Regions from separate parts of the Homo sapiens genome. Here regions 1, 2, 3, 4, 5 and 7 are each linked to region 6. The links are contacts of gene promoters, found by promoter capture Hi-C in blood cells and fetal thymus (Javierre and others, 2016). All regions are on one chromosome and are shown on one strand. The core of a region is centred on a gene start or on the middle of the fragment in contact, and the rest is flanking DNA. Distances in the headings are between cores, read along the strand shown.

What was found. The method cuts DNA at HindIII sites, captures the fragments that hold promoters and counts their contacts. A CHiCAGO score of 5 or more calls a contact.
Region 1: a contact is called between a fragment that was not itself captured here and the fragment with the promoter of ATOSA in region 6, in 8 of 17 cell types (naive CD8 T cells, M0 macrophages, M1 macrophages and 5 more). The highest score is 6.8, in naive CD8 T cells.
Region 2: a contact is called between the fragment with the promoter of GNB5 here and the fragment with the promoter of ATOSA in region 6, in 8 of 17 cell types (naive B cells, total B cells, naive CD4 T cells and 5 more). The highest score is 7.8, in naive B cells.
Region 3: a fragment that was not itself captured here is called in contact with the fragment with the promoter of ATOSA in region 6 in 6 of 17 cell types (total CD8 T cells, non-activated CD4 T cells, naive CD4 T cells and 3 more); the score reaches 10.0 in total CD8 T cells.
Region 4: a contact is called between a fragment that was not itself captured here and the fragment with the promoter of ATOSA in region 6, in 1 of 17 cell types (non-activated CD4 T cells). The highest score is 5.3, in non-activated CD4 T cells.
Region 5: the fragment with the promoter of MYO5C here is called in contact with the fragment with the promoter of ATOSA in region 6 in 15 of 17 cell types (endothelial precursors, M0 macrophages, M1 macrophages and 12 more); the score reaches 23.3 in endothelial precursors.
Region 7: a contact is called between a fragment that was not itself captured here and the fragment with the promoter of ATOSA in region 6, in 4 of 17 cell types (fetal thymus, naive CD8 T cells, total B cells and 1 more). The highest score is 6.7, in fetal thymus.

What each region holds. Positions count from the first base shown.
Region 1 is chr15:52,270,833-52,274,030 of GRCh38, forward strand. MYO5C (myosin VC) reads right to left here. Exons shown (of 41, transcript NM_018728.4): 6 at 1,748-1,891; 7 at 931-1,012. Among named protein-coding and RNA genes, the nearest start is that of MIR1266, 4.8 kb to the right of the region's middle. The HindIII fragment of the contact is 8,241 bases long and covers 1-3,198 here.
Region 2 is chr15:52,189,994-52,193,499 of GRCh38, forward strand. GNB5 (G protein subunit beta 5) reads right to left here and starts at 1,399. Exons shown (of 13, transcript NM_016194.4): 1 at 1,329-1,399. MYO5C (myosin VC) reads right to left here. Exons shown (of 41, transcript NM_018728.4): 41 at 2,329-3,506. The region is part of intron 2 of CERNA1 (competing endogenous lncRNA 1 for miR-4707-5p and miR-4767); the gene reads left to right. RefSeq lists an enhancer at 1,497-1,996. The HindIII fragment of the contact is 7,593 bases long and covers 1-2,945 here.
Region 3 is chr15:52,328,183-52,331,649 of GRCh38, forward strand. MYO5A (myosin VA) reads right to left here. Exons shown (of 42, transcript NM_001382347.1): 35 at 2,171-2,317. Among named protein-coding and RNA genes, the nearest start is that of MYO5C, 34 kb to the left of the region's middle. The HindIII fragment of the contact is 349 bases long and covers 1,558-1,906 here.
Region 4 is chr15:52,214,988-52,218,574 of GRCh38, forward strand. MYO5C (myosin VC) reads right to left here. Exons shown (of 41, transcript NM_018728.4): 32 at 3,532-3,587. Among named protein-coding and RNA genes, the nearest start is that of GNB5, 25 kb to the left of the region's middle. The HindIII fragment of the contact is 5,613 bases long and covers 1-3,587 here.
Region 5 is chr15:52,294,333-52,297,830 of GRCh38, forward strand. MYO5C (myosin VC) reads right to left here and starts at 1,472. Exons shown (of 41, transcript NM_018728.4): 1 at 1,278-1,472. The coding sequence starts at 1,304. It overlaps LOC105370819 (a long non-coding RNA gene), which reads left to right and starts at 552. Exons shown (of 4, transcript XR_932250.3): 1 at 552-879. RefSeq lists a silencer at 1,136-1,295. The HindIII fragment of the contact is 736 bases long and covers 772-1,507 here.
Region 6 is chr15:52,678,084-52,681,418 of GRCh38, forward strand. ATOSA (atos homolog A) reads right to left here and starts at 1,305. Exons shown (of 13, transcript NM_001385016.1): 1 at 745-1,305; 2 at 1-39. LOC105370821 (a long non-coding RNA gene) reads left to right here and starts at 1,522. Exons shown (of 4, transcript XR_932255.4): 1 at 1,522-1,610. RefSeq lists enhancers at 1-70, 201-340 and a silencer at 921-1,240. The HindIII fragment of the contact is 2,387 bases long and covers 1-1,951 here.
Region 7 is chr15:52,166,672-52,169,814 of GRCh38, forward strand. The region is part of intron 3 of GNB5 (G protein subunit beta 5); the gene reads right to left. Among named protein-coding and RNA genes, the nearest start is that of CERNA1, 12 kb to the right of the region's middle. The HindIII fragment of the contact is 5,734 bases long and covers 1-3,143 here.

The DNA.
Region 1 (3,198 bases), core at 648-3,147, 410 kb before region 6:
TAGATTCTAAGAGTACAAGCAACTTCTCCAAAATTAGAGAGTGTGAGTTCAACTCCAACATACTAGAAGTTATCTCCAACAATTCTCATCTACCAGCATAGCACAAATGGCTAAGGCAGGAGAGCTGTGACAGCACGGGGCTCGGGGCCTTTTGTACTGAAGGACAAACAGCCCTATGTTTTAGCCATCTCTGGAATATAATTAATTATGACTACAAGTAATGAATGACCTTGAGCCATCAAGGAAGGTCAAATTATGATACAGGTGGTTTGTTTTAATAAGTGGGTTAACATGTCATGTTCAAATAAAATGGAAAGTTTGGTGACATCATATGTTCCAGCTGTCAGGAGGTCTTATTCAGGTGGTTCTAGCTGGAGGACCATAAATACCCAATGAGCTATTTTTTTTTTTTTTGAGACGGAGTCTTGCTCTGTTGCCCAGGCTGGAGTGCAGTGGCGTGATCTCGGCTCACTGCAACCTCCATCTCCCGGGTTCAAGCAATTCTTCTGCCTCAGCCTCCCAAGTAGCTGGGACTACAGGTGCGTGCCACCACACCCGGTTAATTTTTGTATTTTTAGTAGAGACAGGGTTTTGCCATGTTGGCCAGGCTGGTCTCTAACTCCTGACCTCAGGTGATCCACCCTCCTCAGCCTCCCAAAGTGCTGGGATTACAGGTGTGAGCCATCACGCCAGGCCCAATGAGCTTTAAAAATAACCCTCAGTCTTACAAGTGCCCCCTCTCTCTAAACTCATCCCCCCGGCCCTAATCCATCCCCTTAATTAGATGCACCAATTCTGTCCCTGAAACCAAAGAATCTTGTATCTTTGGGCAAATACTTAAAACAAATATATTACTATAAGAAGAAAGTTAACCTAGAATTTAAGCCCTCCATAAAAGAGAGACCCTTTCATACACGATCCATCACATACCCAATTTAAGATGTTTAAATTCCGACTGCTGTGCAGATGCACAAAGCTGATAGAAAATGTGGTAATTTCGTTCATTTTCCGACTGTAAGATAAAGAAATGTCCTCAAAATTACACCAAATCCTTACAAGCAAAAATGCCAGGTTTTTAACTAGAGGGTCCTAGATATCTAATCCGCATGGATAATTCTCTGTCTGGGATGTGATCTGGCCAGTTCACAAGCAGGCCCTTCCTCTCAGCTGAGAACTGGGTGGCCTGAGATGGCCTTCCAAGTAATGAGCAACCCAGAGAAAGTGTTATTAAATGAAAACGTCCTATGAAATGGGAATGGCGTAACTCATCCTAGTGAAATTTTTACAAACTTCCTGCAATACAAGGCTTTCTGTTGCTCTCCTCCTGGGCCAAAACGATGAGAAATTTCTCCATTTACTGGCAGAAAAGCCTTTCTTTTAAAACCCCCTCAATAGCTCTGATCCCATTCCCTTCCTGATAGGAAAGCCAGTCTGTCAGCTTAGCCTATTTCAAACAGTTTTCGTACTCTAGAAAGAGATACTTGCTTTTTAAACTATAAGGATTTTGTAAATCCCCCAAATTAAAAAGTCATTAACCTTTTCCTGCAGACATACAACTCACCTGATATTACACCTATTCATCCATCAATTTTTAATAAACAGAAAAAAGAATCCAAACTGCAAATGAAAGACAAGAAAACCCTACTCTTCAACTCACAGCATAGTGTAGCTTGCCTGAGTATGTATAATAAGTATGTAAATGTAAATAATGCTCAAAAAGTTGGGGAAAAGGAAATTTAATACTTACTTGAAAGACAACTCTGGATTTCTCCAGGAGGTAAGTGCTCATGTTGGCTCCTATAATTTGATTTTGTTCATCAAAACTGATTTCTGTGTATTTCCCAAACCGACTACTATTGTCATTGCGGGTGGTCTTGGCATTTCCAACGGCCTAAAAAAAATAAGACTCTATTGAAATAACAACATTAAAAGATTTTTGCCTCAAAATTATTGGAGGGGTTTTTAGTAAAAGGCAATCCTGTACCCTAGGGGAAGGTCTGATTGGCAGAGGGAAGTCTGGGGAAAGAAAGCAACCCCACGCTGGCAGGGAACATGACAAATCAGAACATGAGCCTGCTGCTCAAGGTTCTCCTTGGTCCCACTGGCAGATACTGGGGAGGACCAGAAAGAGCACAGGTTCTGATGTTTCAGGGTCCTGGGTTCTATCTTTGCTATCTGTGTAATGTCTTAAAAGTTAATTCACTGGCTAGGTGCAGCGGCTCACGCCTGTAATCCCAGCACTTCAGGAGGCTGAGGCAAGAAATTCACTTGAGGCCAGGAGTTTGAGACCAGATGAGGCAACACAGTGAGACCCCCGTCTCTACAAAACATAAAAAAAAAATTAGACAGGCATGGTGGTGTGTGCCTGTAGTCCTAGCTACTCAGAAAGCTGAGATGGGAGGATTGCTGGAGCCCAGGAGTTGGAGGCTGCAGTGAGCTATGATTGCACCACCGCACTCCAGCCTGGGTAACTTAGCGAGACCCTGTCTCAAAAACAGACAAACAAAAAAGTTAATTCATCTTTCCAGGTCTTAATTTCCCTATCTGTAATATGAGAATCATAAGCAACTCACTGTTATGGACTGAATGTTTGTGTCCTCTCAAAATCTTCATGCTGAAATCCTAACCCTATGTATTGGTATCATAAGGTGGGCCTTTGGGAAGTAATGATGTCACGAGGGTGGAGCCCCTGGGAGTGGGATTTTAATGCCTACATAATAGGGATCCCAGAGACCTCTCTTGCTCTCTTTCTGCCATGTAAGGGTACCGTGAGAAGACAGCAGTCTGCAACCCAGAAGAGAAGCCTCTCTAGAACCTGACCCCTGCTAGCCCCCTGATCTTGGACTTCCAGCCTCCAGAATTGCGAGAAATAAATTTCTGTTGTTTATAAGCCACCTGGTCAATGACACTAAAGTATATTATACTAAAGTACATTATATTTATTATTATAATAGCAGCCCAGACTGACCAGAACACTTACAGAGTAGGGAGGATTAAATGAGAGAATATGAGGTGCCTCAACTCATTCAGGCCCCAAATACCTATGATGCTCAACTAGAAGTTCACATCTTTCATCCAACCTTTATTCCAATCCCTACTCCTTACTGCTTCCCTACTCAACCTTTCCACTCAACCAAAAAACTGCTCCTTCCCATCCCTCACACTCTCTGGGCAGGATTTTTGCTTTTTACTTCTGTT
Region 2 (3,506 bases), core at 149-2,648, 490 kb before region 6:
ACTCTGGAGTCAGTGGCAATGGTTGCAAATCCTTGTAAATAAACTTAAAAAACACTGAAATATATGTTTTAAAATGATGGGTTTTAAAACATGAAACAAAACGTGGACATCATATCTCAATAAATTTTTTTTTTTTTTTTTTTAGACAGAGTCTTGCTCTGTCGCCCAGGTTGGAGTGCAGTGGCGCAATCTCGGCTCACTGTAAGCTCCGCCTCCCAGGTTCATGCCATTCTCCTGCCTCAGCCTCCCAAATATCTGGGAATACAGGCGCCCGCCACCTCACCCGGCTAATTTCTTGTATTTTTAGTAGAGATGGGGTTTCACCGTGTTAACCAGGATGCTCTCAATCTCCTGACCTCATGATCTGCCCGCCTCAGCCTCCCAAAGTGCTGGGATTACAGGCATGAGCCACCGCGCCCAGCCCAAAGATTATTTTTAAAATGGACAAAAGGCTTGTGTAGTCACTTCACAAATGAGGATACTTATATGGTCAATAAACATATAAAAAGGTGCTCATTATCATTAGTCATCATAGAAATACAAAGTAAAACTACGATGTGATACAACTACTTAGCCATCAGAAAACCTAAAAAGCCTGACAACACAAAGTGTGGGCAAGGATGCAGAGACTGGAACTGCCTTTCTCTGCTAGTGGGAGTATAAGTCGGTATAACCACTGTAGAAAACTGGTTGGTAGGAGCTACTAAAGTGAAACGGATATAGTCTATGACCAGGCAATTCTACTCGTGCATACATACACCACAGAAAATAATGCTTATTTCCTTAAAAAAAAAAAAAAAAAAAAAAAAAAAAAAAAAAAAAAAACATAAATGTCATAGCAGCTATTCATAGAAGGCCTAAACTTGAAAGACCCAAATGTTCACCAGTCACAGACGAAACTGTGAAATGAGCATAGAATAAAAAATAACTGATACACACAATGTGGATGTATCTCAGACTTACAACTAAAAACCTCTTTCTAACCCCATAAGCTGTACTCAGAGGCTTATGTTGCCATGTGTCACCTGGATCAAATTTTAAAACTGACTTAGTGATTTTAAGTATGCTTAATCTCTTTCCTGATGCCAATATTAATGTAAAAAATATTGAAATATTTCAATTTGAAATATTTGAAATTTACTATTTCAAAATAAATTCATGTGTATTGTAGAAAAATTAGATTCTACGGATTAACAACAACAAAACCCCTCACCCATGCTCCCACCGCACAGAAAGACCTGCTAACACTGTGCCCTGTACTCATCTGGATGCTTTTCTGAGCATTTCAAAAGCTGGAGTATTTTAACCGAATGTCAGCATGCACATACCTTCCAGAGTCAGCACTGGGAGCCACAGAGCAGATGGTGAGAGGTGAGGACCAGCGCGCAGCTTGAGGTGTGAAGCACGTCTCCCACTGGCTAATCTCCTTATCTTCTCTGGAGTGCTGCTCAGCTTGCTTCCTTCCTCCACAGCACTTCCATGCTCCCTGCTGGGCACGCACTGCCATCTGCATCCCTCACTCACCCCTGGAACCTGCCCAGCCCCTCTGTGGAGGGAGGCCTTGGCAGGTTTGACCTCTGTGTCTGCGCCCACTCACTGAGCAGCCCTCACATTCACCTGGGCCACATGTTCTTAACATTTCTCTATTTTGGTCTCCTTGCCACTGTCAGCTTTGTAGAACTGATCAAGACTGTGGGATGAGTGCCTCCCTTTCCCCATTTTTCCACACATAAACTCCTCAGCCTCCACAGGTCTCCCTGTCCCCAAACATGACCTACTTTTTCCCATGGTTGACTCCCCACCACACACACACAGTCCTCCAACGGGACTTTGCTCCTTCAGTTCTCTTCCCACCTCATCAGCAGTAGGATGAAGGCAGGGATGAGGAGGATGTGGCACCTGCCCTCTGGGGCTCACAGGCCTACAGAGGAAATGGGCAGCATTTCTGGCTTCCAGTCCAGGGTAAGTGCTATAAAACAGGCATAAATCCTGAGTTATGGAAGCCGAAAACCAACAGTGATGGCTCCTCATGGTGTGGGGAAGGTCTAGAAAGGGCATGGAGGCCGCAGCTCAGGATCAGAAACCCTGCCAATTCTCTGCCAAGTAGCCCCTCATTCTGACAGTGTGGAAGCGCCCTGGAGACACAGCCTAAGCCAGCACTTATGACATATTTACTTCTTCTCTAAACATTTTAATATACTTTAAATGAGATATTATGAATCTATAAAGATTCTAGCATCTTTCAGTATGACCGTAAAGAAAGGCATACAACTTGTACACTTAAGAGACATGTCATCTCCTCGCAATGAAAGAATCTGACCCAATTCATTTGGTAATTAATTTTATTGATTAAAGTATTACAAAGTTCTACTTTTCATTTTTTCATGTACAATGTATTGAAATGAACTAAACTCAATCACTTATAATATAAAAAGACATTATTATGTATTAGCAGGGTGATGCTTCATAATCATGTATTATTCCTACCTCTAAGACACCAGTCTGTATTATAGAATCACAGCTGTCACCTGTGACTGTCAGAAACAGAAGGTGCAATTGGGATTCTTAGGTTGGTGACAGAATAGCACTGGATCCACAGGCCAGAGACTAGGAGTGCTTATCAAATGAGGTTTTAGGCTCTGAAAGGAAGGAATGAGAAGGTGTGCCGGGACAAGGAATAGCCAGTTCCCATAAAACTTGGGAAACGTAGATTTCTCAAAAGTAGGGTCCGACACAATTTTTTAGTTACTTTTTGAGAAAATTTAAAAATAAATACATTGAAATGCTGATTAGAGAGCGAAAGTAATTTAGGTTGCTTTTTCAATCTGAGGTTGTTTTAAAAAAGTTATTGTATGAAAGGTATTAAAAAATAAAAAAATTATGGTGAATATGTTGGCAGGTAAGATTTGAAGTTCTTTCAGAGAAGATAAACGGCATGGCAATTAAGCTTTAATAATATATTAGTTTTAAATAGATATACATATAAAAATACTTCAAATGATTCATCTCGGATTGAACACTCTTAAAAATTAAAAGGGTCAGCCGGGCGCGGTGGCACACGCCTGTAATCCTAGCACTTTGGGAGGCTGAGGTGGGCGGATCACGAGGTCAAGAGATCGAGGCCATCCTGGCCAACATGGTGAAACCTGTCTCCACTAAAAATACAAAAATTAGCTGGGCGTGGTGGCAGGTGCCTGTAGTCCCAGCTACTCAGGAGGCTGAGGCAGGAGAATTGTTTGAACCCAGGAAGCGGAGGTTGCAATAAGCCGAGATCATGCCACTACACTCCAGCCTGGCGATAGAGCGAGACTCCGGAGTCTCAAAAAAAAAAAAAAAAAAAAATTTAGAAGGGTCTAAAATAAACATTTTTAAATGCAGGGCATTTTCAGTAAAAAGAGTTCATGAAAACCTTCTGTCCCCAGCAGGCATGGGGCAAGAGAACTTTTGGCAGGTCACGGTGGCCAAACGGGATTTTTTCCTGGAAGACTCAGCACTAGAATCCACTT
Region 3 (3,467 bases), core at 482-2,981, 350 kb before region 6:
TCCATATAATGACAACTCCCAAACTGATATCTCCTGCGCTGACTTTTCCCTTGAATTCCAGTCTCACTATCAACTACCTTCTTGACAACTCTGCTCAGGCACATGAAACTAAGCCTCTCCCAAACCAAATTCTTGCTTCTCTAAGGAACCTACTTTTTTGGAAGTTGTCCCCATCTTAGTAAATAAATAGCAGGTCTAGTCTTCCAGTATCCTAGATTACAAACCTCATCCTCATTTTTGACTCCTTTCTTTTCTCATACCACATATCCAATCCATCAACAAACCCTGTTGGCTCTATCTACAAAATACATCCAAAATCCAGCTACTTCTCACTGCTTCTACCAGCTACAGATGTCCCATGGAGGCCACCATCATCTCCTGCTGGGCTGCTGCAATAGCTCCCTAACTGGCCTCCCTAATTCATCTCTTGCTCCCCAGTACTGCATTTTCCATACAACAATCAGGGCCATTCTTTCGGAAAATGTTGGTCAGATCATGTCACTCTCGTTCTGAGAATCCTCCAAGCAGCTTCTCATGTCAAGCATTTATAAAAGCCAAAATCCTCACCATAGCATAGGATCTGGCCCTATTCCCCTTCCCCACTCCAGCTCACTCTGCTCCAAATGGGTCTCCTTGCTGTTGGTTAAACATGCCAGGTATGCTCCCTGCCCTGGGCCTACGTGCTTACTGTTTTTCTGCCTTGAATGTTCTTTCCTCAGATATTAGCATGACTTGTTAGCTTACTTCCTTTGGTGTCTGTCCAAAGATCACCTTACCAAAGAGTGTTTCCTGACAATTTTACACAAACCAGTATACCTGCCTTCACTCTTTATTCTTTTTACTCCATCATATATTTGTTTATTTTATTTTCTTTATTTCTCCCCTGGAATGTAAACTCTGTAAGACTGGGTACTTCACTTTGCTCATTACCTAGAAAATGCTTGGCACATGATAAGAGTTCATTAAACATTTGCTGAATTGATAAATCTGTTAATTCTTTGCTGAATTGATAAATCTGTTAATTCTATGCTTAAAAACCAGTGGCTCCTTAACATTTTTGCTAAATGAAATTCATGTTGAAACTTAAGCACCTGTGCAACTATATATAGTACTAAGTTTAATGCCAGGAACATTCCATCAGGTATAAGTGCCAATCACACTGCTGTCACCCTGGCACCTGGCGGGAGGAATGCTGTGCAAAGGCTGAAAGGAGAGGTTTTTAGGATTTTCACTTCACAACTTACGGTGTGTACACTCTAATCATTTACCACCACCCTCTAAAAAGTTTTCTTGCAAAGCCAGCAGGCTCAGACCCAATCTTAAAGGCAGTGTGCTGCCCTGAAATGCTTCTTCCACTCTCATCTCATTTATTCTGTCCATTCCTTCCTTTGTTAGAATCTTTTCCTTTTTTTGTTTCTTCCCTATTATTACACTGCCGTCCTTGACCTATTTAGTTGCAAACCTTTCTAGGGGAGTAAGGAAAAACTGAAATTCAGGAACCTAAACGGCCTAGAGCAGTTGTGCTCAACTGTGGTTACACTTGAGAATCCCTTAAGAAGCTTTTTATTATTTTTGAGAAAGACTCTTGCTGTGTAGCCCAGGGTGGAGTGCAGTGGTATAATCACAGCTCACTGTAGTCTTGAACTCCTGGGCTTACATGATCCTCCCATCTCAGCCTTTTGAGCAGCTAGGACTACAGGCATGTACCACCTCGCCTGGGTAATTTTTTTTTTTTTTTTTTTTTTTTTTGGAGAGATGCGGTCTTGCTATTTTCCCGAGGCTGGCCTTGAGGGTTTTTTCTTTTTCTTTTTTTTTTTTTTAAAGTACTAGACATTGCCAGGCTCTTCTCTCTAGAGATTTTGATTTAACTGGGCAAGAGGGAGAGAGATACATCAGTATGGTTCAAAGCTTCCAGGTGATTCTAATGTGCAGCCAGGGCTGAGAAGACCTGATCTTGAGCAATCCTTGTAGGTGGGTCTGAGGCATGTGTCCCTGCAGTTGGACTGAAAGTGCTTGGTGTGGTCAGAACACTACTGCAGCACTAGAATACATGGTATCTGATGATGACTAATGAAACCTACGCTGAATATCTCAAAAATTAGTGACTAGTTTTTCCCACCATTAACCCATGTGCCAGAAGGAACTTTTATCCAATGCAGAAAATACTTGCCCAGAATCAGGTTCTTAACAAGTTTTTGCTCATCCTCCTTCTTGTATTCCAGCATCCCTTGGAAATCCTTTTCTTTCCTGGGAATGTTGACTGGTCGGATGGGTTCATCAATGATCTGTCCTGGGGATATGTTCTCCATCTGGCCCACTTTATGAGAAGTAAGAAAGGAGGAGAAAATGTTTTCCATATAAAAAACATGAGAGGTCTCCAAGTTCCTATAATTTTGAATGCATTCTACAACAACCGAAACTTGCCATATTTGCCACTTAATTGCCTTCTCTTAAAATAATTTTTTTCTGTTAAAATTGGGTGAACAGATGGCAAAATTATATGGTCATCTTACTCTGAAAGCCACTCCTGCCTAACTGTAAATTAACATCAAATAACCTTACATGACTCAAAACTTTTTTTTATGTAATAAGGCTTACTTTTTAATAAGATTAAATGTCCAAAAAGTAAGTGGTTTAACAGATTTGTTAATTAATTGATACTAATCAGAAATGGTTAAACATATTTTGACTTTAATTCACAGGAGGAACAATCAATATCCTACAAAGGGGCAGAAGGAGCAGAAACAATTCCCCCTTGCTCTTGGCTCAATGACTTTAGCCATTAAAAGCAAAAGAACATTTACTTTAAATGTATCATTACAATCAATTCAAAACACATACAGATAGCTGGTAGAAGAGTGTTTCTTCATACCACTTGGTCCAAAATGTATTATTTTTCACAAAGGCCTCATATGGCAAAGACCTAATTTTCTCCTGCCATCCTCATTCCCAGAGAAATCATGAACAGATAAACTATCTCTATGTAGTATGATTTCCTAAATGTTATTATTTTTTATTTCTTTTTAATATAATGTTAAAAATTCTACTTATAAAGTTGCAATCAATGAAGTACAACCACTGGTTTACAATGCTTTCAGATGTTAAAAATAGTCACTATTGTCAAGGGCAGCAGCTAGAGAATTATGCTAAAGGTTAAAAAAAAAAGTCTCCAATTTCATCTCAAAATTGAGACTTGAGTGGGAAATCCAACAAAAAGTAAAGGGACATATGAGTTACCACAGCCACTGTGGAGATACACGCTAGTAACCAGGTTTTTTATCCTTTTATCTACAGGGAGGGAGAGTGGTTAAGAGATTTGTTTAAGGGCAGATTAAGTTTGAGTTCTGAGATTGCTGTCAAACAAAATGCAGATCAGATGCAAAAACATTAGAAAGCTTAATATTGCTGACTCCACGAGGTGTCAGTAGTGCTTCTTGTGTCACTCTGGGTAATTTCCTGGGTTAGTT
Region 4 (3,587 bases), core at 1,088-3,587, 460 kb before region 6:
ATTCTGGACATCTCATATAAATAAATTCATAGAATAGGTTTTTTGTGTGTGTGTCTGGCTTCTTTCACTTAGCATAAGGTTTTCAAAATTCATCCATGTCGTAGCATGTATCAGCATTTCATATATTCGTATGGCTGAATAATATCCTATTGTATGCATATACTACATTTATCTTGCTCTTATTACATAGGAGTGCCCATCATAGAGAATTTAAAAATATGAATGTGGGAAAATGGGCTTTCTAGATTTCAGAAGCTGGAGCTAGAGAAATGTTCAGAGATTTGGGCCTGGTTTTGCCTTTCTTTCCTGATAAGTAGGTGGCCTTGCCCATGCTGAATTTGGCTCAAGAACCAGAAGAGTCCTTGGATACCTAGAAATATTTCCTATAAAGGACATAGTGTTTAAGTTCTTCCACATCTGAGCATTTGACACATATAGAATTCAGGCTTCTCTGACCCAGAAAGACCCACCATGCAGGGTCACTGCAGCTGTGTGCCCTCTAGGGACTCTTGGGGCCGAGGGACATTGTGCTGTTTCTACTCTGTGCGGCCACCTCTCTCCCTGCCACCATTCTGTGTCCCTGGCTAGACATGTTAGGAACTCTATTGACCTTAGAAGTGGCGGTGTCAGTACAGCTTCCTCCCTCCAATTCAAGCCCATCTTATAATATATCTAATAAAATGGGTCACCCATCAACCCATAACCCAGAAAAAAACCACTCTTCACATTTTGATTTCATTCCTTTTTTCCCAATATGGTAAATGTACATTTTATAAAATTGGGATCATATTACATGCAAAATTTCAAATCCTACATTTTTCTCTAGTTATACTGCAGACGTTTTCCCATGTCATTGATAATATACTCAAACCATCATTTTAACAGCCAAGTCATATTATATCATACAACAATTTAACCTTTGCTCTATTGTTAGGTATGCATTTCTCTCCTTTGGGTTGCTTTTTTTCTCTATGATTAATAACACTAAGATGATCACTCTGAACAAAAATCTCGTCCACATGTTCAAGTATTTACTTAGGATAGAACCTTACAAGTTGTGTTACTGAGTCAAAGGGAATGTACTTTCCAAAGGTTCATGATCCATACCTTCAAATAAGCCCTCAAGAAAGTTTATACCAATTTATATTCCCAGCAACCATGTATGACAGTGCCCATTTCAAGATGTTCTCTCCAGCAGCATAAGATCTCTATTAATTATTATTATTATTAGTAGTAGTATTTTTAGAGACAGGATTTTGCTCTGTCATCCAGGCTGGAGTGCAGTAGTGTGATCATAGCTCACTGCAGCCTCAATCTCCTGGGCTCAAGCAGTCCTCTTGCCTCAGCCTCCTGAGTAGCCAGAGCTACAGGCATGCACCACTATATATATATTTTTAAAGTTTTCCTTGTAGAGATGGGGTCTCACTACGTTGCCCTGGCTGGTTGAACTCCTGGCCTCAAGTCATACTTCTGCCATGACATCTTAAAGTGCTGGGATTACAGGCATGAGCCACTGTGCCAGGCCCAGGTCTCTGTTAATTTGACAGGCAAAAATAGTACCTAGTTTTGATTTTGAATTTCTTTGATAAATAGTGAAATGATTACTAAAAGTTTTTTTTTAATCTCTTAATAAGAATTCAGTGACAAAAGAGTCTGGAAAAAAAAAAGAAATTTCTTTGACTCAAAGCATCACATAGTGGTTTGAACAGTGTCACCTTGAAATTCATGTCCAACCCAAACTCCAGAATGTGCCTTTATATGGAAATAGGGTCTTTGCAGCTGTGGTAAGCTAAGGGTCAGTATGAGAGGTGGCTACTACAATTTAGGGTGGGCTGTAAATCCAATGCAGGTGTCCTTATAACAGATGGAAAAGAACACAGAGACAGGGAGAAGGCCAGGTGCAGAGAGGCAGAGGCTGGAGTTACACTGTTCCAAACCAAGGAATGCCTGGAGCCCTCTAGAAGCTGGGAGAGGCAAGGAAGGGTTTTCCTTAGAGACTTCGGAGGAGTGTGCCCTGCTGACACCTTGACTTCAGACTTCTGACCTCCATAATTGAGAGAACACATTTCTGTTGTTTTAAAGCACCTGGTTTGTGGTCATTTGTTACAGCAGCCCTGGCAAACTAATACAGATCAGGTCTCATTTGTGGGTAGAATCCGCCGGCTAATGTATAGAGATGATACTCTTGTTGTGTGTCCGTCTGCTTCTATGTAACAGTGAGGCTACTCCGGGTTCAGAAAGAGCTATTGAAATGAGCATGTCAGGCCTGCCAGCTCCTTAGCTCAGCGCACCTGTGGGGAGCAGAGCCAGACACTTGGAGGAGCTCCAGAAGAGGGCGCCAGGACCGAGCTGTGCTCCAGGGCACCAGGAACGAACTCATAAATCCGTCACAATGCACAGGGACAGTCAGAGTAAAGGATCACATGGGATGACATGCGCAGCACACACATGACCCACCCATGTAGCTTCTCCCTGACCGCTGACTCCATTGAGATCCCAGGGGCCCACAGGAGGCAAGGCAAGGCAAGGCAGCCTCACACATGGACAACAGGCGGTTGCTTCTCTGTTGTAACACGAGGATTCCAGTCTCTGAGAAAGTTGTATCCACCTCAGAAAAGGCAGCTGTCATGTAGGTGTCACTGATTGGAATTTGTTACTTCCTATTAAATGTCAAACTCCTGGAATTTCTCTTTTTGGATGTAACCACTCTTCAAAGTTAAACCCTGACACTCAAAATATGTTTTTCCTCTATCAAGGTTTTCCTGTGAGATTGGAAATGGGGGCCCTGTCAGCAGGGAGAAGGGTACGTGGGCATGTCCACACTGACCCACTGGACTCGTCAGCCCTCCTGCGTTACCCTCTTGGAAGCTGGAAGCTCTCAGGTTTCGAAGGGGCCCGAGAGGGTCCCAGCTCCTAGGAAAGTGGCCTGTCACTTCAGCACTTCTCAGTCTTCTGGGTTCCACACAGCATCACAATTTCAAAATAATTGCTGGGAATTGATGTAAGGTTACCCGATTTCATTTTGGTAAGGGCATTTAAAACTCAGAAAAGACCTTAAACACTTTTAAAAAGTTTTTAAGCCTTCCATCGACATCATGATCATTTCATAGAAGAACATTTTGACTCTAAAAATTGTAGGAAGGCCATACCCCCAGAAGAAAGCATGGGCACTTATATGGGGTGAGTTTTGCTGGGTAAAGCACTCACACGTAGGCCTTGCTATCCTCAGTGTGTTCCAGAGCACAGTGACTCCATCCTGGGTGGTGCCGTGCACTGATAGTGCTGGGGAACTACGGCCTGCACCTCTCTGTCTCTCCTCCTTCACCCTCCCCAGGCGGGCCTGTAAGTCCCCAAGGCCTTCCCAAAGCCAACCTCAGAGACCACCTGTCTTTTGGGATAAGAAAACAGACTGCTCTGATGGAAGGACTTTTGGTCTATAGATGTTAATCATATGCTTTAGGTGGCATGTCCCCCCTTTCAGCAACATCTGCACACAGACAGTCTTTATCACCAAGTTAGAAGACTTCTCACCCTGTTTTCCAAAGTGAGCCGGGATGCTTCCTGCCGGAAGTTACACTTGACTTCAC
Region 5 (3,498 bases), core at 222-2,721, 380 kb before region 6:
GGCTCACAGTCTCACTGGTGAAAATATTCTAGAACAAAACTAGGGCAATTCAAACACTGTCCATTTAGAACTCCAGTTAATGGAGATGCAATAGAGGAGAAACTACAGTTCGGTTGCTTTGTGTCCGGACTGTTACTAAGTAATCAAAGTAGAAGAAAAACGTTTGCTTAAACCATTGAAACATGATTTTTTAAATAACTATCTTTTCTATCTACAGCAAAAGCATCTTTTAAAGTAGAAAGCTAGAGCATGTGTCCGGGGAAATGGATGGATTCTAGTTCCACTCGTCTGAATACTGAGGTCTCTAGATTTCCCCAACTGGTGTATAGGAGGATCAGGCTTTATGGCTATTCAAATGGATTTTTTTTTTCAAAAGTGCTAACACTGTCACACTCTTTATCCAAATAATTACCCAAGCCCATCTCAGAGGGTTTGGGACATATGTGGGAACGCTGCCCTTCCGAGGTAAGAGGTGGAGCCCCAGCCAGCAGAAAGGAAGCTTCTGAGGAATGCTCTAGTGTTTCCCAGAGTCAGGGTATATGAAAGGCGCTTTAGAAACTGTGGTGTTTGTACTGTTGCTAACAGTACAGATGTTAGGCAAAGAGCCTACGACTGCACCTCGTGGCCCCTGGGCTCCCCAAGCGCTTGGTGCCACTGCAGTGCCCTCAAGCCTGTGACCCAGGCTGCTTCAGCTTCTGATGAGCCTACATGCACGTTCACGCACTTTGAAGACACAGAATTCTAGAAAGCAGCCCGAACACTGCGGCCATAAGCTTCTATGCCAGCTCGTTCAAGGGGGTCCCAGGAGGGGCCAGGAGACTGGCCGGCGTCTCAGCTTCCTACGTCCGCATGGGCAACTCTGATTCCACCCGTGGTGTGGTAGGAAGGGACCGAGGCGCTCCAGTCCCGGGAGATGGGGACGCACGCGCGACCCCTGGGCACTGGGGATTCTAGGCCCCGAGGCCGGAGCGGCGGAGGGGGCGGCCCCTCCCACAGGGTCTTCCCACCCACAGGGCACCCAGGCGCAGCGGAGCCAGGAGGGGGCTTACCCGCGGGCAGGGACGGAGCACGCCGGGGCCCTGGAGGGGCGACGCTCGCTCGTGTCCCCGGTCCCCGTGGCCCCTCCGCGGCGCCTCCGCGGCCCCCAGCGCGCGCCCGCCCGCCCTGCCGTGTCAGGTGCGCAGGTGTGGCAGGTGTGGCCCGGGCGCCAGGTCGAGTCAGCGTTAGCAGGGCCGGCTCCCCCACAGCGCTCCCAGGAGCCCAGCGGACCCTCCTACCTGCGTGTACAGCTCGGCCACCGCCATGGGCAGGAGGGGCCGGGGCCAGGCCGGGGCTGCCGAACGTGCGAGGCTCGGGGGCTGGGCCTGCGCCGCAGAGGCCGGGCGCAGGAGAGACCGCCGCGGAAATCACCGCCGGGCCATCTTGCCCAAAGTTTTCCAACGGCCTCCTGTTCCCGTTCCCGAGTTGGCGGCGAGGGGAGGGGGCAGCGGCGGGATTGGTCCCTCCAAGCTTGGCCCGGCTAGTCGGCGCTGCCATTGGCCGGGGCCGGGCGGCTGCACCTGGCGGGAGCGCGGGTGGAGAAGGTTGGGGCCCGGGGCGCGCTGCCAGGCAGGAACAGATGCATCCGGAGGCTGCCCGGCCCGAGTGTTAGCTCCTCAAAGAGCAGAGGATACGACCATTTAAATGGAAGACCCAAGGGAATCAACGTACTGAACACAAAGAAATGTGTTAAGAGTCCAGCAAGGTCATCGTATTCAAAATCAAATACAAAAATAAGTAATGGTCCTTTATATGAGCATTGTCTATGCAATACAAGATATTTACAATATTAGTGAAAATATAAAGTATCCAGAGATTACACTCGCAAAAATGCCCTTGGCCTTTGTGGAGAAAATGTTTAAAATTCTCTTAAAGAGCTTAAAAGAAGGCCCAGGTAAACGGGAGACATGCCATTTTCCTGGCTGGGAATATTTAATATGGTCAAGGTGTCACTTCTACCCAAATCAATATATATGCCTAATATATTGGCGTCAGAATCCTACAGAACTTTTGGAGAATTGTACAATGATTCTATATTTCATATAGAATAAAAGCCCTGTATAACTAAGACAATTCTCAAAGAGGAGAGATTTGTCCTGCCATATATTTAGGGACATAACAAAGCAGTAGTCATTAAAACAGTGTGACACTTGCGTGAGAACGGATACGTGAGTAATGGAACATGCTGGAGCCCCCCAGCAGGGCCCTACATTATACGGTAGCCTTAAGGACCAGATAGGGAAATAAAATAATATTTATTAGATGGGCCCGTTATATGGAAAAACAATAAAAGCAGATCCGTGGCAAACACTGCATCCAAAAATAAGCTCCAGATGGATTCACGATTAAAACTTAAAACCGGGAAATTATTAGGAATAAAAGAGGGATAATATCTTTAAAATGTTGGGTTATAGTAGTTTCCATATAGAAGAATTGTTAATCGGTTAAAGAAAAGAAATCCAATTTTTAAAACTGACAAAAATTAATAGGCAATTCACAGATGGGGACACTTAAATGGCTTGTTAGCATACAAGGAGATGTCAACTTTAGCAGTAATCAGATAAATACAAATGAAAACAACAATGAGATATTGCTTTTTACCCATCATATTGGCAAAAACATTTAGGTTAGACAATCTCAGATACTGCCTAGGATGTGAGAAAATAAAAACTTGGCCGGGCGCGGTGGCTCACGCCTGTAATCCCAGCACTTTGGGAGGCCGAGGCGGGCGGATCACGAGGTCAGGAGATCGAGACCATCCTGGCTAACACGGTGAAACCCCGTCTCTACTAAAAATACAAAAAATTAGCCGGGCGAGGTGGCGGGCGCCTGTAGTCCCAGCTACTCGGGAGGCTGAGGCAGGAGAATGGCGTGAACCCCAGGGGGCGGAGCCTGCAGTGAGCCGAGATTGCGCCACTGCACTCCAGCCTGGGCGACAGAGCGAGACTCCGTCTCAAAAAAAAAAAAAAAATAAATAAAAAAAATAAAAACTTTTTTTGCTTACATAACTGGTGGGAATATACTGCCATCCTGGAGAGCAATTTGAGAATAGTTATGAAAATAAATGTAGGCAGAAAAATTCTCACAGTCACCCAAAGAGACAGTTAAGTAGATGTTCATCACAACATAGTTATTTATCAAAGAGTTGGAAGCATCTAAATATCAATAGGGGAATAAATAAAATAGTATATACATGGCAGACAGCAGAGAAAAATAAAAAAAGAAATAGTATATACATGTAAAACTCTACAGCTGTTAGTAGGAATAGACATGATCTACTTGACTCAGAAATAAAAAACAATGTTGAATAGATGTCTAGCCCAAGTCTTTAATATTTAAAAACTCACAAAAACTGCAATACTGAATATTGTTCATGGGTACAAGTATGTGTGAATAGAGGTAAGGAGGATAAATTACAAAGTCATTCATTAAATATGCAAGAGTGGATACCTATGAGGG
Region 6 (3,335 bases), core at 55-2,554:
CGCCGCTGATTCTACGGCTTCTGCTTCGCTTTCAAAATGCTGAAAGAGACAAAAATAAAATTAATCTGGCCCTATTCTAATACCCGGACCTTGCAAGTAAACTACTGTTAAGTTAGGCCTCTTCCTGGCACCAACTGCGGTGACAGCACCCTCGGCTGGTCTGAAAAAAGCAAAACTCTCTGCACCGCCTCCCCCATCTCCTCCGGATCGAGCACCCCCTTCCCTGCCTCTGTGCTCTCCAGGCCAATGTGTCCTTCTGACACAGTCTCTGAACCAAAACAGGATCTATTTATAACCTGGAGGTACAGGCAAGAAGAAGAAAAAGATTTGAGCAACACAAACTAACCCCTTCGTACAAAAACGCCTCTGGAAACAGAGGCACCTCCGCAGGGCTGGTATGGAAATTCTTCCACCTGGTGCCTGGGCGCAGCCAACTCTTCCAGTCCCCTGCGCCTCCCGAGCCCTCCGCCCGCCCCGCCGGGCCTCACCTGTGTAATTACCCTCTGGCTAGCCTTCCTGCGGCAACCGCGGCCAAGTTTACACAGAAACCCGAGTCACCTCCTCCCGCCCAGCCCCCAGCCCCAAACGAACTCTTCCGGGCTGTCCCGGGGCGACCCTACCAACTCCCAACCAGTCCTCCGCGGCCGGCTCCGGGGGAGGTGTTTACAGCCTGTGCTCGCCCCCTGCTCTGCACAACCCCTTCCGTCCCGCCGCGGCCCCGGATTTCCTTCAGCCCCGCCGCACCGAGCGCCGCGTCTGCCCCTCTCCCCGCTGGAGAGTTGTTTTCATGGCGCTCTCGAGCTGGCCGGCTCCTCCGCTCCCTCGGCCGACCTCTGCTGACTAACTCGCTCTCCTCTCCCGTCCCAATCCCGCCTCCTCTTGGCACTTCTCTCCACCGCTCGCCCAGCAGCTCACATCACACTCCCACCTCAGACCCCAGGCTCCGAGAGGCGCAGGGCCAGCGGGAGCGGAGTATGGAGCGCAGCGGCCCCCGCGGCTGCCTCAGGTGACCGTGGGGACCCGAGACGACCAGCCCGAAGCGGCTCCCCGGCGCCCCTGTGGCCATCCACCCGCGCCTCAGCCACCGCCTCGCTCCGCTCCCTGCGCTCAGCCCCTCCGCCCTGCCTGACTGGCACCCGAGCCCCGCGACCCCCGGGCTTCCCCCGCCCGTAGCCCCGGCCGGCCCTCTTGCCCAGCGCCTCTGCCAGCTCCTTGCCCGCCCGCTGTCTCTAGCTCTGGCGCCCCGGCTCCCCGTCCCCCTCGCTCGGCCAGTTCTTTCTCTGCTGTTTGCCCTGTCAAAACACTGCCTAGGTCACGTGTCCCAACAACAGCCAACCCACCCCGGTCGTCACTTCCTCCCCGGCGGCCTCCGCGGCCCTGGCGCCCGGTTACTATGGCAATGCCGCCGCTCGCCCCGGGGCGCTAGTTTGGGGCCGGGTTTTCGGTGCAGGTGCCCGGCGGGTGCGAGGGCGCTGGAGATGGCGGCTGGGAGACACCAGCAGAGTCCCGGAAGCCCGAGACGTCCCAGGCACTTCGGTTGCGCTCCCAGCCGGCAGAGGCGCGCCTGGATTCTGAGACCAGGAATCGGAGCTGCGCTATTAGAGCGCAGGGTAACTGGGGAGATGTCATCCAAAGGCCTGCCCCAGACGTGGAGGATAATTATAGTCGTCGTCTCCTCCTCCTCCTCCTCCTCCTCCTCCTCCTCCTCCTCCCCCCTCCCCCTCCTTCCCCCCCTCCTCCTCCTCCTCCTCCTCCTCCCGGGATGCTGGCACAGAGTTGTGATCGAGCCCCAAGTGGATTGCAGCGCATAATGGAACCCGGGTTTAATGTGACCGGGACGGGGGGTGGGCAGCTATGCGGGTCAGGGAGTGGGAGAATTTAAGAACAGGAAGCCCACCCCCACCCTAGATTTTCCCAAATCACTAAGGATTTTAGTAGGATTCAGAACCCAAGCTTCCAAGACACTCGCTGTGCTAAAAATAATCTTCATAACTTCTAAAACACTGACTCATGGGCAGGAGGACACTTTGACAGCATGTTATTGTTGGGGAGCTGTAATTTTGTTGTTGTGCTATAGCAATGTGACATGATGGCATTTCATGTTGTGATGTTGTCGTCATTTAAACACAAACAGATGACAGGAATCTGCTGTACTTAAAAAAAAACCCAATCCTAACAAGCGCTGCAGCTATTAGCTACTCAGTCTATAGACAAAGTACATATGGGGCATGAGCCCAAATGGAGACAAGTAAAAATTTGCAAGGCTCTTTGGTTTCATTAGAAAAAGTTTTTTTTTTAGATATAATTTTGCATAAAAGGATCACAGGAAAGTATTAGGACAAGTCTAAGGGGATTTTTTTTATTTGTGCCCTTCTGTTTTAAAATTTTTTTTACAATGAGTCTATTATTTTCACATCAGAAGAGTTTTATAAACTGCAAGATTGGCAGTTCCATTTTTTTGGCCTCAGGTAAAGTTCTTATGAAAAAGGCATGAAATATTTAAAAAGTAACATTTTCTAGTGCTTAGATATGTACAGTAAAATAACATGTACAACTGAAATTGTTAACCTTAACTCCACGATTGTATCTAATCAGAGCGGAGAGAACATTCAGGAGGGTAACATTTCATTTTCTCTGAAATGTTCTGGCATCATGACGATGAAACTGACAAATGGAAACAGTTCTTTAATCTATAAAATGCTACAAATGTTAAATCCCAGTGGATTTGACTTTGATATTATTGAATACTGTATTATGTAGTTTTTAAAAAATGAACTGAAGTTTTACTTGTTCTACAAGCACTTGGTAATGGGAGACAGAACAGTTACAGATAAGCCAAAAACCTAAATTTAGCACAACAGCTGGGACCAAATAACAGCTATTGTAAAAGGCTTACTGGGTGAACAGGCAGCAAAATCTGGTTTAGCTTCTTTCTTCCTCTATCTAATGCAAAAGAGGTAAAAAGACCAGGAAATGTTGAGAGCAGAAGCCAAGACTATTAGTGTGTAGCACAAACTATTCTCTTTTAAATAATTTTTAACAGCACTTGGGTAAATGATGATGTCAACATTTGTTAGACTAACCTGAAGTTTTTTTAAATTTAGAATCTTAAACCTGTTCAAAAATTTGAAATCATTATGGCAGCAGAAAAAGTATTTAAAAGGTGTATTTCTGACTCATTATTCAAATTGTTTCATTCCATAATATGCATTTACTGAATACTACCTGCTAGGCTCATACAAGTCTCTGAGAATGTAAAGGTCACCAAAACCAGATAGGGTCACTACTTTCAAGGAGCTTATAGTACTATTACAGTTACATGGCCCTAATCAAGT
Region 7 (3,143 bases), core at 546-3,045, 510 kb before region 6:
CACAGCTAAAGCAGTGTTAAGAGGGAAATTTTAGCACTAAATGTCTATATTAGAAAGCTAGAAAGATCTCAAATCAACAACCTAACATCACAGCTAAAAGAATTAGAGAACCAAGAGCAAAAAACCCCAAAGCTAGCAGAAGACAAGAAATAACCAAGATCAGAGTGGAACTAAAGGAGATAGAGACATGAAAAACCCTTCAAAAAAATCAATGAATCCAGGAGCTGGTTTTTTGAAAAAATTAATAAAATAGATAGACCACTAGATAGATTAATAAAAGAGAGGAGAATCAAATAGACACAATCAGAAATGATAAAGGGGATATCACCACTGACCCCACAGAAATACAAACAACCATCAGAGAATACTACAAATACCTCTATGCACATAAACTAGAAAATCTAGAAGAAATAGATAAATTCCTAAATGCATACACCCTCCCAAGACTGAACCAGGAAGAAATGGAATCCCTGAATAGGCCAATAATGAGGTCTGAAATTAAGGCAGTAATAAATAGCCTACCAACAAAAAAAAGTCCAGGACCAGACAGATTTACAGCTGAATTTTACCAGAGGTACAAAGAGGGGCTGGTACCCTTTCTTCTGAAACTATTCTAAACAATTGAAAAGGAGGGACTCCTCCCTAACTCATTTTATCAGGTCAGCATCATCCTGATATCAAAACCTGGCAGAGACACAACAAAAAAAGAAAACTTTGGCCGAGTGCAGTGGCCCACGTCTGTAATCCCAGCACTTTGGGAGGCTGAGGCGGGTGGATCACCTGAGGTCAGGACTTTGAGACCAGCCTGGCCAACATGGTGAAACTCTGTCTCTACTAAAAATACAAAAAATTAGCCGGGCGTGGTGGCAGGCGCCTGTAATCTTAGCTACTCAGGAGGCTGAGGCAGGAGAATCGCCTGAACGCAGGAGGTAGAGGTTGCAGTGAGTCAAGATCATGCCATTGCACTCCAGACTGGGCAACAGGAGCAAGACTCCATTTCAAAAAAAAAAAGAAAAGAAAAAAGAAAACTTCAGGCCAATATCCCTGATGAACATTGGTGCAAAAATCATCAATAAATGATTCCCAATACTGGGAAACTGAATCCAGCATCACATCAAAAAACTTATCCAACACTATCAAGTTGGATTCATCCCCAGGATGCAACATTGGTTCAACATACACAAATCAGTAAATATAATTCATCATATAAAAAAAACTAAAGAAAAAAACCACATGATTACCTCGATAAGACAGAGAAAAGGCCTTCAATAAAATTCAACATCCCTTCATGTTAAAAACTCGCAATAAACAAGGTATTGAAGGAACATATCTCAAAATAGTAAGAGCCATATATGACAAACCTACACCGAATATCATACTGAATGGGCAAAAGCTGGAAGCATTCCCCTTGACTGGCACAAGACAAAGATGCCCTCTCTCTCCACTCCTATTCAATATAGTACTGGAAGTTCTGGCCAGGGCAATCAGGCAAGAGAAAGAAACAAACGGTATTCAAATAGGAAGAGAGAAGTCAAATTATCTTTGTTTGCAGATGACAAGATCCTATATCTAGAAAACCCCATCGTCTAAGCCCAAAAGTTTCCTAAGCTGATAAGCAACTTCAGCAAAGTCTCAGGATCCAAAATCAATGTGCAAAAATCACTAGAGAGCCAAATCATGAGTGAACTCCCATTCATAATTGCTACAAAGAGAATCAAATACCTGGGAATACAGCTAACAAGGTAAGTGAAGGATCTCTTCAAGAACTACAAACCACTGCTCAAGGAGATCAGAGAGGGCACAAACAAATGGAAAAACATTCCATGCTTATGGATAGGAAGAATCAATACAGTGAAAATGGCCATATTGCCCAAAGTAATTTATAGATTCAATGCGATTCCCATTAAACTACCATTGACATTCTTCATAGAATAGGAAAAAAAACTATTTTAAAATTCACATGGGACCAAAAGAGAGCCCATATAGCCAAGATAATCCTCAGCAAAAGGAACAAAGCTGGAGGCATCAGGCTACCCAACTTCAAAATATACTACAAGGCTACAGTAACCAAAACAGCTGGGTACTGGTACAAAAACAGACACACAGACCAATGGAACCGAATGGAGAGCTCAGAAATAAGATTGCACACCTACAATCATCTGATCTTTGATGAACCTGACAAAAACAAGCAATGGGGAAAGGATTCCCTATTTAATAAATAGTGTTAGGAGAACTGGCTAGCCATATGCAGAAGACTGAAACTGGACCCCTTCCTTACACCTTATACAAAAATTAATGCAAGATGGATTAAAGACTTAAATGTAAAACCCCAAACTATAAAAACCCTAGAAGAAAATCTAGGCAATACCAGGCCGGATGTGGGGGCTCACGCCTGTAATCCCAGCATTTTGGGAGGCCAGTGTGGACGAATCACTTGAGGTTAGGAGTTTGAGACCAGCCTGGCCAACATGGTGAAACCCCGTCTCTACTAAAAATACAAAAATTAGGTGTGGTGGCGTATGCTTGTAGTCCCAGCTACTTGGGAGGCTGAGGCACTTGAATCACTTGAACCTAGGAGGCGGAGGCTGCAGTGAGCCGAGATCGCACCACTGCACTCCAGCCTGGGTGACTGAGGCAGGCAGATCACCTGAAGTCAGGAGTTTGAAACCAGCCTGGCCAACATGGTGAAACCCCGTCTCTACTAAAAATACAAAAAATTAGCTGGGCATGGTGGTGGGCACCTGTAATCCCAGCTATTCAGAAGGCTGAGGCAGGAGAAGAGCCTGAACCCAGGAGGCGGAGGTTGCAGTGAGCAGAGATCACGCCATTGCACTCCAGCCTGGGTGACAAGAGCGAGACTCTGTCTCAAAAAAAAAAAAAAAAAAAAAAAAAGAAAAGAAGAGAAGAGAAAAAGAAAAAAAGAAAAGAAAGAAAAGAAAAGAGGTAAAGAGGAAAACCTAGGCAATACCATTCAGGACATAGTCATGGGCCAAAGATTTCATGACAAAAATGCCGAAAGTAATTGCAACACAAGCAAAAATTGATAAATGGGATCTAATTAAAACAAAGGGCCTCTGCATAGCAAAATAAACTACATCAGAGTGAAGGGACAAACTACAGAAGGGAGAAAATGTTTGTGATCT